2 separate regions of the Homo sapiens genome follow, and region 2 is linked to region 1. The links are contacts of gene promoters, found by promoter capture Hi-C in human tissues and cell types (Jung and others, 2019). All regions are on one chromosome and are shown on one strand. Each heading gives the region's core, a stretch centred on a gene start or on the middle of the fragment in contact. The rest is flanking DNA. Distances are from core to core; before and after follow the strand shown. Region 1 holds the start of RBM5 (RNA binding motif protein 5). Region 2 overlaps IP6K1 (inositol hexakisphosphate kinase 1).

Region 1 (5,822 bases), core at 3,106-5,605:
TAGAGACAGGGTTTCACCATGTTAGCCAGGATGGTCTCAATCTTCTGACCTCATGATCCGCCCGCCTCGGCCTCCCAAAGTGCTGGGATTACAGGCGTAAGCCACCGTGCCGGCCTTCTGGTTTTTTTTTTTTTTGAGACAGAGTCTCCCTCTGTCGTCCATGCTGGAGTGCAATGGCATGATCTCAGCTCACTGCAACCACTGCCTCCCAGGCTCAAGCAATTCTCGTACCTCAGCCTCCTGAGTAGCTGAGGTCGCACCACTGCACTCCAGCCTGGGTGACAAGACTAAAAAGCTGTCTCAAAAAAAAAAAAAAAAAAAAAAAAAAAAGATATATCAAGATGACCAAAACAACAACTTATATTTATTATTTTTCATTATTATTATTTTAAAGACAGGGTCTCCCTATGGTGCCCAGGCTGGCCTCTAACTCCTGGGCTCAAGGGATCCTCCTGCCTCGGCCTCCCAAATTGTTGGGATTACAGGTGTGAGCCACTGTGCCTGGCCAACAACTTATATTTATCATTCATTTCAAAACACAGAACTAATATGTTATCATAACCCCATTGTTTCATCTTTAAAATGGGAATAACACCTACCTTATCAGGTTGTACTGAGACCTAAATGAATTCATGAAGTCAAGTGCTCAAAAGTACATGGTGATCCCTATGTAAACCCTGGCCATTATTTCTTTTCTTTTTTTTTTTTTTTTGAGATGGAGTCTTGCTTTGTCACCCATGCTGGAGAGCACTGATACAATCTCAGCTCACTGCAACCTCCGCCTCCCAGGTTTCAAGTGATTCTCTTACCTCAGTCTCCCAAGTAGCTGGGATTACAGGCGCCCACCACCCCACTCAGCTAATTTTTGTATTTTTAGTAGAGACGGGTTTTACTATGTTGGCCAGACTGGTCTTAAACTCCTGACCTCAAGTGATCTGGCCGCCTTGGCCTCCCAAAGTGATAGGATTATGGGAAGGGGCCACTGGACCTGGCTGCCTGGCTGTTATTTCTATTACTATAAGGCTCAGAGTGTTTTGGGGGGTTATACAGCCGCTGGTCACTCACCTCTGGACTGTCATAGTCTCGGTAGTCATCATATCTATCACCCCTCCGATCATCACTAGATCTTTTGTAATCTGAGTCCCTCCGCCTGCTTCGGGATTCACGCTCATCACGGTCATCCCTGTCTATGATGGAACCGTATCTTCCACTACGCTCTGTTCTACTCACTCTGCCAGGGAAAATAATTTTCATTCTAAAGTCAGTCACATTTTGTACCTTTAAAAGACATAGTTAAAAATACACACGGCCCACAGATCAGTTTATAAGATAATCCAAATAGTTTAAAGTGTTAAAAAGTATTACCAAATTCCAGTTTACTAAGATAACCACTGGGAAAATACCTACATCCCTAAATGTAATGATAATTCTCAGGAATGTATGCTAAATCTGAAATAAACATTTGGGTTGAATATTTCTAAGAAAGAGTCATGTTGTCCAAGTTTATTTTTGCATTTTGTCAAGCCTAGAGTCTACATATTATCCCTTCATCCCTGATTCAGATCTTAGTGACCAAAAACAGGAAGAAAGCAGTTACTCGAATTTCACCCAATTTTAAAGGGTGAAATTAAGTACATCCCTGGCTCATCTACTCTCAAGGGTATCATGCCTACTGGAAAATGGACCAAAAACCTGGATGAACTAAGTTAGTCTTTTTTTTCCCCATCAGGCAACTTAGTTGTCTGTCAGATACAACTGGATAGTTACCCAAAACTAGCACCCCTTAAGAGAACACTCTTCTTATAACATCTGGTTTATTTTTGGCTAAAGGGCAGCACTGGGCTTCATGGGAAAACCTAATAACAAGAGGCTTAAACCTATTTGACCACAGATAAAATACACCTTTTGTAAACTGTTTACCAGATTCATAAAACTGCTGTGCAATCATAAGGCAAAGGAAAGGTTTATAAGGGCTTCATTTAGAATATACAAATTTAATAAAAAGAATCAAAGGAAATATGGGACTGAGACACCCCAAAGGGGTAAATGTTAATTTAGTAAGCTATTTAGAACCACAGACTGCTGACACAGCATTAAAATACCATGTGACATGAACATCTCCTAAGGTCCCTCAGCCTGTCAATGTGATCTACCACAGGGACTGACCTCAATACTAAAAAGGCAGATGGCTGAATAAGGGTGTGTGTTTAAATCAAATGGTCTGAGAGCATGTACCCATAGGTGACACAATAGCCAAATGCTCTCATCTTAATTTTCCACTAATTCTTTGGCTCTTTCTTTCTTCATGTAACACACAGTCCCAAGCTTCTCAGCTCTCTAAGTCTGGATCATCTTGCTATTCAGGGAACAATAACAAGAAATGGCATTCATTGATTGCTTACCACAGCCAGGAACTGTGCTAAGTGCCAGACTGTATGATCTCCTGGATTCTGCAAAGGTTGCTGTCCACACAGGGAACCTTCAGTGACCCACTCTACCCTGCCCTTCTTTGCCTAAAATTCTTTCTTATCCTTCAGCTTCCTTCCAGAGAATATTTTCTCCAGGAAGCTTTCCTGGCTGTGAACAAGAAAAAGACATACTTCCTATGTGTTCTAAGAGCACCCTACACTTTATCACAGCATGTTCACACAGTACTTTAATTCTCTCACTAGACTGTAGTTTGTGACAACAGGATCATAAAGGTGTTCGTTAGCAATGCCTGGCGCAAAACACTCATATATTAGTTTGATAAACTATTTTAAACAAGGAGTTCAGTCCCCACTGAAATGTTGAGATCAAAGCCACGTACTGTAGTAACTTACCTTTTGTCTGAACCCATTGTCCCACTGAAGATTTAGCACACAGCTCCAAAAGGTTCAAATTTTATTTTTTCTAGGAGACAAGAGAGATTAATTGCTATAAATCTCAGAGATCACTTAAGTCAGCAGCTCCATAGCTTGGATACTACTGAGGCTGGGATTTCATCAAACCTTCAAATCATTGACAGTGATTATCTAAGGTGGGGAAGTGGTGGGGACAAACTGTCAACGTTAAAATCGTGCTAACATTTTGTTAACAATGAGCAAAACCGGAAGATTAAGCATATTTTAAAATATTAGATTCCAGATTTAACAGAATCATAATACGGAGCAAGCAGAAGACTCCTTCCCTGCTCCTACCTTAGAATTACAAAGCAAAAAGGGCAGAGCTACAATCAGCTCCTTGGTTTTGTATCAAAGCAACTCCGTGGGATAGTTGACCGTTAAAACATTAATCCAAGTGTCTTCATTAATACAAGGAGCAACATGAAATTCAAACACTTCTGATGAAAAATGTAAAACCTCGTAGAAGCTGGGATACTGAGCTGACTGAAATCTACTACATTAATAACGTATCGCATAAGACAAGAGCAAAGCTAGAAACGACCTAATTCCTAGGTAACAATAACCACCACGTCTTGAGCCAGTTCTTATGACTACAAACCACTGAGTAGTGAACAGCCCGGCCCCCCGCCCCCCGTTGGTAATAAGACATCACACTGCTGGACCGCGTTCGATGAGCGCGAGGTCCGAAAAATCAGTTCCAGTAGTCTCTGGAAGCCTAGTCTAGAGCGAATGCTCAACGATTTGTTGAAATTAATAAATGAAAAAGAACCACTGGGGGGAAACAAGTCCCGGGGCATATTCACTGGTGCCGCCCCTTGTCTCCCGGGCGGTGCCGGCACCCACCTCCGTGGGGTCTCGCGGCCGAGATGGCGGCGTCACGGCCTGCTCGACCGACTCCAGCGTCCGGCCTGCCCTCCCCGCACATGCCCCTCCCGCCTCCCAAGAGGTTCCAAACCCGCAGATGGGCGATCACCGAACAGCTTTTCGGAGAGGGCGATTCAGTTGCAGTTGAGCGGGGGATGGCGGCCAGAGACTGCCAGGGAGCTCCCAAGGAGTGCCCGAGGGACAGGCGACGGCTCCACTGCTCCGTTGGGCTGAAGATTAGGGGACGTGTATCCACAAGGGGCAAAGTCACAGCCAGAAAGAAGCAGGCCCAAGGCTGAGCTGGCTGGACACCCTCTGGAAACTGACAGAGCTGGCAACAAGGAAGGGCGCGGCCCTCCAACGCCTGGGGTAATTTAGCCCCTCTACAGAACCGGCTGGAGCTGATCAGTCGCCTCCGGCAGCTGACAAGGGAGGCTTGGGGGCCAGCCCAAATGGCAAGAACCTACCGTCGTTACAGACAGCCGCCGCACTTACCCCAAGGAGAGACCGAAGCAGCAGTAGCGGTTCTGCGCCCCAGAACCTCCAACAAGGTTCGGCGGCTACACAAAATGGCGCCTCCGCCGACGGCCGTCTCCTACCCACAGTACCTCACGCTTATCCCCTCCCCCTGTCACCCGCCTCCTGCGGAGAAGTCCAATCCTCGAAGCGGCCTGGCTGTGCGAGGGCTGCCGGGAAATGTGGTCGCCAGACCATCCTGTCACTTAGGACGCTCTGTGTTAATGTCTTGCAATTCTCTTCTAAATCACTACAGAGTTGTCGATCGGCTTTTGCAGACCTGGATTAGTTTTTAGGGCTCCTATTAGGCATGTTAATAATTCTTTGCTTTTGCTACTAGCGCCGTAGAGAGTACAGTTTGCTTTCACTGGCACGGTGTAAAACATTGTCTAATTCTACTTCAAAAGGAGACCGTGCGTGAAGTGGTGGCTCACTCACAAGCCAGCATTTTGGGAGGCCGAGGCAGGAGGATCGCTTGAGGCCAGGAGTTCGAGACCAGCCTGGGAAACACAGTGAGATCCTATCTCTACAAAAAATAAAATTAACTGAGCATGGTGGCGTGCACCTCTTGTCCCAGCTACTCAGGAGCTGAGGTGAGAGGTTCGCTTGGGCCCAAGAGGTCGAGGCTGCAGTGAGCTGTGATCTCGTCACAGCACTCCAGCCTGGGGACAATGCGAGAAACTGTCGCTAAAAAATAAAAAGGAGGCCGGTGCTGGGCGCGGTGGCTCACTCCTGTAATCCCAGCACTTTGGGAGGCCAAGGCGGGCGGATCACAAGGTCAGGAGATCGAGACCATCCTGGCTAACACGGTGAAATCCCGTCTCTACTAAAAATACAAAAAAATTAGCTGGGCATGGTGGCGGGCGCCTGTAGTCCCAGCTACTTGGGCGGCTGAGGCAGGAGAATGGTGTGAACCCGGGAGGCGGAGCTTGCAGTGAGCCGAGATTGCGCCACTGCACTCCAGCCTGGGCAACAGAGTGAGACTCTGTTTCAAAAAAAAAAAAAAAAAAGGCTGGACGCAGTGGCTCACGCCTGTAATCCCAGCACTTTGGGAGGCCGAGGCAAGTGGATCACGAGGTCAGGAGCTCAAGACCAGCCTGACCAATATGGTGAAACCGCGTCTCTACTAAAAATACAAAAATTAGCCGGGCATGGTGGCATGCACCTGTAGTTCCAGCTACTAGGGAGGCTGAGGCAGGAGAATCACTTGAACCAGGGAGGCAGAGGTTGCAGTGAGCTGAGATCGTGCCACTGCACTCCAGCCTGGGTGACAGAGCAAGACTCAGTCTCAAAATAATAATAATAATAATAATAATAATAATAATAATAATAATAATAAATAAATAAATAAAAAGGAGGGGCCAGGCATGATGGCTCATGCCTGTAATCCAAGCACTGTGGGAGGCCGAGGCAGGTGGATCAGCTGAGCTCAGGAGTTCGAGACCAGCCTGGCCAACATGGCTAAACCCCGTCTCTACTAAAAATACAAAAATTAGCTGGGTGTGGTGGCGCACACCTATAATCCCAGCTACTTGGGAGGCTGAGGTAGGAGAATCG
Region 2 (6,696 bases), core at 1,777-4,276, 320 kb after region 1:
TTTACACTCTCACCAGTAATGTATGAGAGTTGTGGTTGTTCCACATTTAGCAACATTAAGTGTGTTGTAGTGTGTTTTTAATTTTAGCCATTTGGGTGAAAGTATAGTGGTAACTCATTGTGGTTTTAATTTTCACTTACCTGAATGCTAATGATATTGAGCACCTTTTCCTGTACTTAATGGTCTTTGTGTATCTTCGTTTGTGAAGTATGTATTCAAATCTGTTGCCCATTTTTTTTTAAAATTGGCTTTTTTATTTTTTAAAGAAATGTATCTTTTAGAGATAGGGCCTCCCTATGTTGCCCAAGCTGGACTTGAACTTCTGGGCTCAAAGGATCCTTCTGCCTCATCCTCTCAAGTAGCTGGGACTATAGGTGTTCACCACTGTGCCTGGCAGGGTTTTTTTTTTTTTTTTTTTTTTTTGTTACTGAGTTTTAGGAAGTTTTTTTGTATTCTGGATACTATATTTTTTGTTTTTTGTTTTGTTTTTTTAGAGACAGGGTCTTGCTCTGTTGCCCAGGCTGGAGTGTAGTAGCGTGATCATAACTTAGTGTACCCTCTAACTCCTGGGCTTAAACGACCCTCCTGCCTCAGCCTCCCTAGTAGCTAGGACTACATGTGCATACTACCATGCCCAGCTTATTTTCTTTTTAAAAATTTTTTGTAGCAACGGAGGTCTCAGCATATTTGCCCAGGCTGATCCTGAACTCCTGACCTCAAGCATTCCTCTTGCCTGGGCCTCACAAGATGCTAGGAATACGGGTGTGATCAAGACTCCATCTCATAAATAAATAATCAGAGGTTTTCAATTTTGATGAAGTCCGATTTATCAATAATTTCTGTTATGGTTATTGCTTTCTGTGTTCTGTCTGAGTGTCTGAGGACACCTTGCCTACCTCTTAAGTGTTGGACATTTCTAGCAAGGCTTGAAGTCAGGTAGTGTAAATCATATAACTTTATTTTTTTTGAGACAGGGTCTGGTTCTGTCACCCAGGCTGGAGTGCAGTGGCATGATCTCCGCTCACTACACCCTCCACTTCCTGGGCTCAAGCCATTCTCCCACTTCAGCCTCCCGCGTAGCTAAGACTACAGGTGAGCTCTGCACACCTTGGCCTCCCAAAGTGCTGGTATTATAGGTATGAGCCACCATGCCCAGCCTAACTTTATTTTTTGTGTTTTCACCTACAAGCTTTCTAGTTTTAGCTTTTACATTTTGGTCTCTGAGTCATCCTAAGTTAATTTTTGTTATTGTGTGAGATTGGGGCTGGTGTTTCTTTTTCCCCCACATAGATAACTGATTGTTCCATTACTAGCAACATTTGTTGAAAAGACTTGTGTATTATCTATTGCTCTGTAACAAATTATTCCAAAACTTAGCAGTTTAAAACAGCAAACAGTTATTACCTCAGTTTCTGAGGGCTAGGAATTCAGAAGTGGCCCAGGCTAGAGTGAAGTGGTGATCACAGCTTACTGCAGCCCTGGCCTCCTGGGCTTGAGTGATCCTCCCAACTCAGCCTCTCAAGCTGGAACTACAGGCATGCACCACCATGCAGGGCTAGTTTTTTCTATGTTTTGTAGAGATGTTGCCCAGGCTGGTTTTGAACTCCTGGGCTCAAGTGATCTTTCCCTGTTGGCCTCCCAAAGTGTTGGGATTATAGGCCTGAGCCACCATGCTTGGCTTAGAGGATCTGTTTTCAAGATGACTTATTCATAAAGCTCTTTGCAGGAAGCCTCAGTTCCATATTGTTTATCTCTACCCAGGGCTTTTGTTTGTTTGTTTTTAAATTTTCCCTACTTTAAAGCTAACAAGTTATACACAGGGCTCTTTGAGTTTCCTCATGGCGTGCAGTTATCTCCTACAGAAATGATCTAAGACAAAGTAAGGAAGAAACCATGAAGCCTCTTATGACCTAGTCATACACTGTCACTTCTGCCATATTCTTTTCATTAGAATGAGTCCCTAAGTCTAGCCTGTACTCAAGGAGAGAGGAGGATTTCACTTTTTAGAGGGAAGAATGTAAAAAAATTTGACATAGTTTAAAACTACCAAAATTTTCTCTCCCCATTGGTTTGCTTTGGTACTTTTGTCGAAAAACAATTGACTGTTATATCCTGATTTGTCGCTGGCAAAAATCCCAAAAACAATTGACTCTGTAGATATGGGCCTGTTTGTGAAATCTGTGTTCTGTTCCATTGATCTATTTGTTTATCCATATGCCAGTACCCCACTACTGTAGCTTTATAGGAAGTCTTGACATGAGGCAGTGTAAATAACCCAACTTTATTGTTTATCAAGATTTATTTGAATATTACAGTTTCTTTTTATTACCATATAAATTTTAGAATTAGCTTGTCAATTTCTGTAAAAAAGTCTCCTGCCATTATGGTTGAGATTCCACTGAATTTATAGATTCATTTGGGGAGAATTGACATCTTAACTATATTGAGCCTTCTAATCCATGTGCTGTGTGAGGCATATTTCTTGATTTATGCCTTCTTTACTATCTTGCTACATTATTTCATTGTTTTTAATGTAGAATTCTTTCACGTTTTGTTAAATTTGACCCAAGACATTTGATTTTTTTGATGCTATTGTAAATGAAATTTTTAAATTGTAGTAAATATACATGAGAAAATGTAGAATTTTAACTATTTTGAAGGGTATGATGCAGTGGCATTAAATACATTCACAATGATGTTTTGAGAACTACTTTCATCATCCCAAATAGGAACTCTCCCCATTATATAGTAACACCCCATTCTCACCTCCCCCAGCCCCTTGTACGTTCTTAATAATCTTTTTGTCTCAATGAATTCGCCTATTTTATTTTATTTTATTTTTGAGACTCAGTCTCACTCTGTCACCGAGGCTGGAGTGCAGTGGCCCAGTCTTGGCTCACTGCAGCCTCCGCCTCCCAGGTTTAAGTGATTCTCCTGCCTCAGCCTCTCAAGTAGCTGGGATTACAGGTGCCCGCCACCACGGCCGGCTAATTTTTGTATTTTTGGTAAAGATGGGGTTTCACCATGTTGGCCAGGTTGATCTCGAACTCCTGACCTCAAGTGATCCACCTGCCTCAGCCTCCCAAAATGCTGGAATTACAGGCTTAAGCAACTGTGCCCAGCCCTGTTTTATTTTATGTAAGTGGAATTATAATTATATAATTTTTTCCCTTTTGTGCCTGGCTTATTTCACTTAGCAAAATGTTTTCAAGATTCATCCATGTTGTGACATGCATCAGAATTTCATTCCTTTTTAAGGCTGAATAATATTTCACTGTATGTATATACCGCATATCTTTATCCATTTATCTGTTGATGGACATGGGTCGTAGACACCATTTGGTTATTGTGAATAATGCTGTGAACATTGGTGTATAAATATCTGTTTTGGATTCCTCCTTTCAGTTCTTTTGGGTATAGACCTAAAAGTGGAATTGTTGAATCATATGGTAATTCTATGTTTAACTTTTTGAGGAATTGCCATACTGTCTTCTTTACATTCTCACCAGCAGTGCACAAGTGTTACAATTTCTTCATATCCTTGCCAACACTTATTTTCTATTTTTTTTTTTTTTTTATAACTTGGATGTGAAGTAGTTTCTCATTGTGGCTTTGATTTGCATTTCCCTAATGACTAATGAAGTTGAGCATCTTTTTGCATATTTTTTGGCCATTTGTAAATCTTCAGAGAAATGTCTAAGGCCTTTGCCCATTTATGAATTGGGTTATTTTTGTTGTTGTCGAGTTATACAAGTACTTTATATGTTCCATGTATTAATCCTTTATCAGATGTATGATCTGCAGATATTTTCTGCTATTCTGTGGGTGATGTTTTCACTCTTTTTAAATTAATTAATCGGTTTTTTAGAATAGAGATGGGATCTCACTATATTGCTCAGGGTGGTCTCAAACTCTTGGGCTTAAGTGATCCACCTGCATCAGCCTCCCAAAGTGTTGAGATTACAGGTATGAGCCACTGTACCCAGACTAATTTTATTTTTTTAAGTTGTTGTTATTATTATTATTATTTTTTGAGATGGAGTCTCACTCTGTCACCTAGCCTGGAGTGCAGTGGCGTGATCTCTGCTCACCACAGTTTCCGCCTCCCGGTTCAAGTGATTCTCCTGTTTTAGCCCCCCGAGTACCTGGGATTACAGGCACGTGCCACCACAACTGGCTACTTTTTTGTATTTTTAGTAGAGATGGGGTTTCACCATGTTAGCCAGGCTTGTCTTGAACCCCTGACCTCAGGTGATCTGCCCACCTCGGCCTCCCAAAGTGTTGGGATTACAGGCGTGAGCCACCGCGCCTGGCCAATTATTATTATTTTTTAAGAGATAGGGTCTCATCCTGTCACCCAGGCTGGAATGAGTGATATGAATGTAGCTCACTGCAGCCTCAAACTCCTGGGCTTGAGTGACTGCCTGCCTGCCTCAGCCTTCCAAGTAGCCGAGACTACTGGTATGAGCCAGTGCAACTCAGCTGATTTTTTAAAAATAAAAAAAAAAATTTTGTGGAGATGGGATCTTGTTAAGTTGCCCAGGCTGGTCTCAAACTGAGCTTAAGCAATCCTCCTGCCATGGCTTCCCAAAACTGTAGGATTTCAGGCCCTTGGATTTCTTTCTTTTTTTTTTTTTTTTTTTTTTTTTTTTTGAGACGGAGTCTTGCTCTTGTCACCCCGGCTGGAGTGCAGTGGCACGCTCGCTGCAACCTCTGCCTCCAGGGTTCAAGTGATTCTCCTGCCTTAGCCTTCCGAGTAGCTGGGATTACAGATGCCCACCACCATGCCCGCTAATTTTTGTATTTTTAGTAGAGACGGGGTTTTGCCATGTTGGTCAGGCTGGTCTCAAACTCCTGACCTAGTGATCTGCTCGCCTCAGCCTCCCAAAGTGCTGGGATTACAGGTGTGAGCCACTGTACCTGGCTGATTTCTTTCTTTTTTTTTTTTAAGATGAGGTCTCGTTCTGTCACCCAGGCTGGAGTGCAATGGCACGATCTTGGCTCACTGCAACCTCTGCGTCCCGGGTTCAAGTGATTCTCCTGCCTCAGCCTCCTGAGTAGCTGGGATTACAGGTGCCCACCACCACACCCAACTGATGTTTTAATTTTTAGTAGAGACAGAGTTTCACCAGGTTGGCCAGGCTGGTCTCGAACTCCTGACCTCAAGTGAGCCACCTGCCTTGGCCTCCCAAAGTGCTGGGATTACAGTTGTGAGCCACAGCGCCTGGCGTTTCTTTTTTTTTAGACAGAGTTTCGCTCTTGTCACCCAGGCTGGAGTGCAGTGGCGCGATCTTGGCTCACTGCAGACTTGATCTCTTGGGCTCAAGTGATTCTCCCACCTCAGCCAGACTCCCGAGATGCTGGGACTACAGGCATCTGCCACCACACCCAGCGAATTTTTGTGCTTTTTGTTTTTGTTTTTGTTTTTGTTTTTTTGAGATGGAGTCTTGCTCTGAAGCCCAAGCTGGAGTGCAGTGGTGCAATCTCGGCTCACGGCAAGCTCCGCCTCCCGGATTGACACCATTCTCCTGCCTCAGCCTTCCAAGTAGCTGGGACTACAGGCGCCCGCCACCACACCTGGCTAATTTTTTGTATTTTTAGTAGAGACGGGCTTTCACCATGTTAGCCAGGATGGTCTTGATCTCCTGACCTCGTCATCTGCCCGCTTCGGCCTCACAAAGTATTGGGATTACAGGCGTGAGCCACCGCGCCTGGCTTTGTGTGTTTTTTTTTTAGATATGGGGTTTCGCTGTGTTGCCCAGTCTGGTCTTGAACTCCTGGTCTCAAGTGACCCACCTGCCCTAGCCTTCCAAAGTGCTGGGATTACAGGTGTGAGCCACAGTGCCTGGGTAATGTAGATTTTTACATAGTTTATGTATCAGTTGACTATTAAGTGGTATATGAAAAAGAGATAAATGATAAACCAAAGGTACAGTGACAGCGGCCCTTTTTTTTTTTTTTTTTTTAAGACGAGTCTCGCTCTGTTGCCAGGCTGGAGTGCAGTGGCGATCTCAGCTCCCTGCAACCTCTGATTCCCATGTTCAAGTGATTCTTCTGCTTCAGCCTCCCAAGTAGCTGGGATTACAGGCACGTGCCACCATGCCCTGCTAATTTTTTTTTTTTTTTTTTTTTTAAGTAGAAACAGAGTTTGACCATGTTGGCCAGGATGGTCTCCATCTCCTGACCTCATGATCTGCCTGCCGCGGCCTCCCAAAGTGCTGGGATTACAGGCGTGAGCCACCACGCCCTGCCTACAGTGGCTTTTATGTTTACTTATGTAGTTACCCTTACCAGTGTTCTATATTTTTTCTTTTTCTTTTTAGCTACTGTCTGGTGTCCCTTCATTTTAGCCTGAAGGACTCCCTTTAGCATTTCTTGTAGATCTGGTCTAGTAGTTAGCAACTCCCTTAGTCTTTATCTGGAAATGTCTTAATTTCTCTTTCATTCTTGGATAGTATTTTCAGATGTAGAATTCTTGGTTGACAGTATTTTCCTTTAGGACTTATATATGTTATCCTACTGCCTTTTGGAGGTTTCTGAGGAGAAATCTGCTGTTAATCTCGTTTAGGATCTTTTGTACTTGAGGCATCAGTTTTCTCTTGCTGCTTTAAATATTCATTCTTGTCTTTTGGTTTCAATAGTTTCATAACACGTTTTTGTTTTATAATGTGTCTCATATGGGTCTCTTTGAGTTTA

Evidence for each region. The method cuts DNA at HindIII sites, captures the fragments that hold promoters and counts their contacts. A contact is called where the count stands out against the background at its distance.
Region 2: a contact is called between a fragment that was not itself captured here and the fragment with the promoter of RBM5 in region 1, in 2 of the 25 tissues and cell types used here (pancreas and spleen).

What each region holds. Positions count from the first base shown.
Region 1 is chr3:50,087,452-50,093,273 of GRCh38, reverse strand. RBM5 (RNA binding motif protein 5) reads right to left here and starts at 4,355. Exons shown (of 25, transcript NM_005778.4): 1 at 4,245-4,355; 2 at 2,823-2,892; 3 at 1,066-1,231. The coding sequence starts at 2,839. RefSeq lists enhancers at 3,316-3,906, 4,068-4,177, 4,218-4,387, 3,907-4,498. The HindIII fragment of the contact is 21,518 bases long and covers 78-5,822 here.
Region 2 is chr3:49,764,916-49,771,611 of GRCh38, reverse strand. All of the region lies in intron 1 of IP6K1 (inositol hexakisphosphate kinase 1), which reads left to right. Among named protein-coding and RNA genes, the nearest start is that of IP6K1, 18 kb to the left of the region's middle. The HindIII fragment of the contact is 9,567 bases long and covers 1-6,696 here.